Linked DNA regions of Homo sapiens: region 1 is linked to region 2. Evidence: promoter capture Hi-C in 16 types of primary human blood cells and fetal thymus (Javierre and others, 2016). All regions are on one chromosome and are shown on one strand. Each heading gives the region's core, a stretch centred on a gene start or on the middle of the fragment in contact. The rest is flanking DNA. Distances are from core to core; before and after follow the strand shown.

The links. The method cuts DNA at HindIII sites, captures the fragments that hold promoters and counts their contacts. A CHiCAGO score of 5 or more calls a contact.
Region 1: a contact is called between a fragment that was not itself captured here and the fragment with the promoter of RASSF6 in region 2, in 1 of 17 cell types (fetal thymus). The highest score is 5.9, in fetal thymus.

The regions. Positions count from the first base shown.
Region 1 is chr4:73,862,379-73,865,078 of GRCh38, forward strand. No RefSeq gene overlaps it. Among named protein-coding and RNA genes, the nearest start is that of CXCL1, 5.7 kb to the right of the region's middle. The HindIII fragment of the contact is 2,037 bases long and covers 285-2,321 here.
Region 2 is chr4:73,619,145-73,621,913 of GRCh38, forward strand. It overlaps RASSF6 (Ras association domain family member 6), which reads right to left and starts at 1,292. Exons shown (of 11, transcript NM_177532.5): 1 at 1,144-1,292. RefSeq lists enhancers at 766-1,315, 1,316-1,864. The HindIII fragment of the contact is 3,198 bases long and covers 957-2,769 here.

The DNA.
Region 1 (2,700 bases), core at 53-2,552, 240 kb after region 2:
TGGCATCTTTTATTCTGGTCCTGAAAAGTCAAAATAGGCAAAAGAAACTAAGGAAATTCCACACTCCATCAAGGGAAGCTTCCACATATCCTGACTTAAGGATATTTTAGTTTTAAAACAGTGACCTGAAACCATTGACTCATGCATTATGTCAGCAAACATTTGTTGAGTGCTTAGCATGAACCAGACTCATTTTAGAGACTTTTTCTTCTAGCTCCTTCTAACTCCCTGTTTGAAAACTTATCTTCATGTTTACATCTTCTTTTTCCAGAGTCCTGGCACAAAGCTTCCCGTGAACTTTCAGGACCAGATATTCATAGTTTTTGATGGGTCCCTAGGAAAACCACTGGTGTGAGAGAATTTTAGAGTCTGGTGGATGCAAACAGGAATGAGATATATGATGGCTTTCCTTACAGAATACACAATCCAGTATGGGAGTATGTAAATCAATGCTCCCCACAATGTGATTTGTATCCAAAGGCCAAGATAACCCTTTGGAAGGAAAGATGGGATTTTAATGGAAGTGACATTTGAAATGGTCCTTGATTGATAAATAGGAGCCTTCAGTGACTGGGCCCTGCCTATCCTTCTGCTGGATCAATCTAAATGTTAAATTCTGTGTTAAAAAAATAAACGGCTGATTTTTGTTTTCAGGTCACACTACACTGTTGCCAGTTTCCATTCCTTTGCTTGTTTGGTCTGCCTCTTCTGAAGTGGGTCCCTTCCCAACTCACCTTAGGTAGCACCCTCTACCAGAAAGTTTTCTCTGGAAGCTCCCACCCTCCCAAGAAAAAGGGTCAGGTGTTCACCTCCTGTGAGTGCCCACAAAACTCTGCACACAGCTGAGTGTCTTGGACCTCCACACAATGCCATATCTTTCTGTGCCACTCTGTAGATGTGAGTTCAGTTGAAGCAAAGTCTTCTTTTCCCTCTTTGTAATCCGATTTAGAGCCAAATTTAGTTCCTGGATTATGAGTGGTAGATAAATTTTGAATGGATGAATGGACAGATGCATTAACAATAAAGTAACTAGAGCAACTATGTAGGAAAGTTGTCTGTAGCAGAAGTGTGGAAGATGGGTGGTATTAGGCAAGACTATTTCACTGGCAAGAGACAGACATCTAATTTATACCATCTCAAAAAAAAGAAAAGAAAGAAAATCTGCTGGCCTACATGACTGAGAAGTTCATAAATAAATCAGAGCCAGCTGGAGGACCTAGGTGTCCATACATATACTTAGATGGTCCCCTTCATGTCTTACCTTTGCTTTTCTCTGGGCCAAATTCGCTCTCAGGTAGGTTCTCTCCAAGCATTACAAAATTCCAGGCCCTCATTTTACCAGTTTTGCAATCCCAGTGAGAATTCAGAACCTCCTTTTCATTCGTTCCAGCAAAAATTCTAGGAACTATTTCTAATATAGCCAGGCTTTGGTCACTTGTCCACATCTGAATTAATCAGCAGGGTTAGGGCTGGGGGTGGCATACAGGAAGGAACTGAGAGATGGGTTATCTTACCTGAAATCTACAGACTAAGAGCTGGTAATCGAGGGGGTGTTCCGAGAAGGGGGTGCCAGACAAGCAGTCTTTGGAAGACTGAATAGAGAGGCTGAACCTAACTCTAGCACCCACTATGCCCTTGTACTTTGGGGGGTGAACTGATCCAGAAATCTAACATCATATTCACACATCTTTATTATTCTCTGCTCAGAGCCAGAGTCATTACATTGGAAGAGATGAGTATAGAGAAATAGGTACAGCAGGTGTGAGGGACAAGAGTTCCTAAGGCAAGTAGGGGCAGAGGAGAGCTGCCCCGCCGGTTCCTGCCTGCCTTGAGCATGGTCACTTCTCAGGATGGAGCAGTGCCTCTATTTAGGCTCCCCTAAAATACAGAGCTTGAGTCATGGGCTTGCCATGCATGTAATTGATTTGGGGAAATGTTCCCAACACAGAGGACTCAAGAACAGGAAAGAGTAAAATAGGAAAAGAGGACATGGGCAACTGGGGTTCAATCCTACTGGATATCCTCTGAGAAATGATGTAGAATGTCTGCCCAAAGCATGAAAAATGGGAAAACATGTATCTTTTGCCTCTGGTTTCTCCTGCGAAAGGGATGTTACATGGCAGCAACAGAGAAACTTTGGGCTAGTGAGTGAAAAATACCTGATGCAGCTGAGGCAGGGAGCTGCCAGGTGACATCTGCAGGCAGCAGAGTGCTACAGCAATGACAGATAAACAGGTCTAGAAAACATGAGCTCCCAGATTTGACTGCTAATTATGAAAGTTTCAATAGTGATTCCAGGCAAAATGGAATTTAGCTACCAAAGCTTCCATTTTTAAAGGTTCCTCCATTTCTTTAAGAATTGTTGCTTGCATACGTTTAAAGACTGCGTAAAATCCCGTCATTCAACTCTTGAAAAAAATTAGCTTGGAGGAACATTTGTTCCAACAAGACAATGAATTTGTTTATTTTTCCAGGCTACAGCATTCCTGTGCTTATAAATTTTGAATTTTGGTTTATGCGGATTTCATTGATACAAGTGGCATATTAAGGAGGAAATAACAACAAAAAATTCTTTCCATTCCAATTCATTTACACAAAATGTGATTTTGATGAAAATTTTCCTGAGTCAAGTTCTGTCTAATCTGCGGATGCCCACTGCTTCTTGACATGCTTAATTCGCTTCATTCTCTTGGCAGCTCC
Region 2 (2,769 bases), core at 42-2,541:
TATAAAACCCAAATGGCATGAATTCCACAATATGAGATTGTGTGTAACTCTCTTACTCTAAAATTCTATTTTCTTTTTAGGAATAACAGATTAATGTAAATGTGAATTTTTCAAAAGAAAACTGATTGAGTAGCAAATATGTCTGAATTTGCCACCACATACTCTATCTGAAAAATGGAAAGAAGCCAGGTCATTTCGTTGCTACCCAGAGAGATGATCCTAGCACACCTGTCACCTGCTTGCCTGTCCTGGATCCAGTCTCCGGGAACCAGTTCAATTCCAGCATCCTAATACACACTGTCTGGTCTCCCTAGTTCAGCTTGCCCTCCCTGATAACGGCCCCTTTGGCAGAGCAGCTTATTCTTAATGCTAACAGTAGGTATCACTTACAGAACACTTGCTGACTGTTCAGTTCCCATCAAAGAAAGCCTTATGTGGCAGATCCTTTGATGATGCTTGTTTTACAGACAAACGTTTGGGGCTTAGGTTAAGAAACTTGAGAGGGGGCAAACTAATAAGTGGCAAAGCCGAGCTTTGAACCTACCACTCTTCTGCTTCAGAATTCATATCCTTAACTCATGCACTCCCATTTAATTATTTATGTTTATTATTTCATTGTTTGGTGAGCGCTTATATTGAAAATTCATTTTTTTTTTGGTGGGGGGCATGCTTTCTGTCACTTTGCAGAAACAAATAAAAGTTGAGCTGAACCCTCAATTAAGTTCTTTCCAGTGCGATGATTCAACACAATATTCTAACCATAAGGATACTCAGAGGAAGGAGTATGCCATCCAGAAGTCTAGTATCTTTGTAAGGCACGATTTTTGCCAGGCACAATTACAGGTGAAGGGCTCATTGAACTAAAGGGAGGAGGGGTCCTATGGTCACATTTACCTCCAAGCCCTTCTCTGCACCCTTTCCCTCCCTTCTTTCCCCTCTCTCCCTCCCACCCTACAAGCTTACCTTGGTTAGGAAAGCATATTCTGAGAAAATCAAAAGGAAAAGGCATGTGTGCGATTCAGGCTGCTATGACACACACACACTTAACTTTGTTGCCTATGGATTCTGCTTTCTAATAACTTGCCCTCAACATGACCCCAGGGAGTGGATTAGAAAGTTTTTTTCCCCATCCCCATTTTTTACCTGTTATTCACACTGTGAGCAGGAGGACCCTTTTCACCATCGTTGTTCGGCTGAACTTGCTTCGCGGTTTGTTCTCGGCTGGGTCAGGAACTCTGGTAGAGGGAAACCAGTGCCCTGTCTCTGCCGGGCTGGGACTCCGCGAGTCACTCACCTGTAGGGGAGGTCCGAGGCCCGCGCGGGCGCAGGGGCGGCGCCTGTCTCCTCCCAGAGCATGGCTCAGCTGGGCGCTTGCAGTGCCCCCGACGCGATCAGCGATCCTGGAGCCCCAGGAGCTGTTAATTATTTCTCCTTTTCGCCACAGCAGGGAAGTGTCAAGAAACCTGAGCCACTCCCTGTGCCTCAGTGCATGTTGGGAGTGTTTACTTTCTTAGGAACAGCTGATAGGTACACTCCTTTGCTCTCTGCCACACTTCTTGAGAAATGAATGGACATTCTAGTTAACGCTTTAACCACGGGATTTGACTGATGTTAATCTCTATTCTCTAGTCCACCCAGACTGTAGGTAATTGGCCTGTGAGAAATGACACCAACCAAGACTGAACGCCATTATTCACGTCTTTCTTTTTAAGATTTTTCTTTTCCAATTTGAGATTTGTTAACTTTCTTTTCCTTGTTATTTTGCTAACACATTTCCCTGCTAGCACTTTTTTTCACCCAGAGCAGCGTTTCGCGCTTCAGGGTGCACCAGGACCACCTATGTATTCTGCTAAACCCAGGTACCATCAACTGTGAGACTCTGATTTAGTAGGCCATGCATACACTTCGGGTATTTATATTTTTTATAAGCTCCACAGAAGAAACTGGTAGACATCAAAGTTTGAAAATGAACATAATGAAACAAAACAGAGGAGATAAATAATAATTTAGTCATTATCTACTGAATTGGATTTGGGGGCTTTGTTTTATCCAATATCTCCAATTTCAAAAGGACACCAAAAAGGCTTAGAAACTGTTAAATGACAGATGCTGTGGAAATATGAAGTACATTTACACACACACACACACACACACACACACAGATTTTTAAGGATCATTGTTATTTTACTGGTTTCCTATGTAAAGCAACTATTCATAATTTTTAAACATAATAGGTTATTTTACAAGTGTAAACCTGAGAGCCCTCAAAAGAAATTCAATCTGATTCCTGCAAAAAGTTCAGCAGGCAGAGTTAATTTCTAGTATCTTTCGTGTTCAAACGCCAGACAAACAGAATGACTCTAGATGTTCAGGTTGCATGTTTGTCATAGCACTTTAAGTAAGATCCTATATGTTCAAAAGGTGAGGCAGGCCAGGTGCAGTGACTCACGCCTGTAATCTCAGCACTTTGGGAGACCAAGGCTGGTGGATCACTTGAGCCCAGGAGTTCAAGACCAGCCTGGACAACATGGCAAAACCCTGTCTCTGCAAAAAAAAAAAAAAAAATTAGCCCGGCATTGTGGGGCATGCCTATAGTCCCAGCTACTCGGGAGGCTGAGGTGGGAGGATCACTTGAGCCTGGGAAGTCGAGGCTGCAGAGAGCCAAGATTGCACCACTGCACTCCAGCCTGATTCAAAAAAAAAAAAGAAAAAATATTAGGCAGTTTATCTATTTAATCTGTGGTGTGCGGAGACCAGGAACTATCAGAT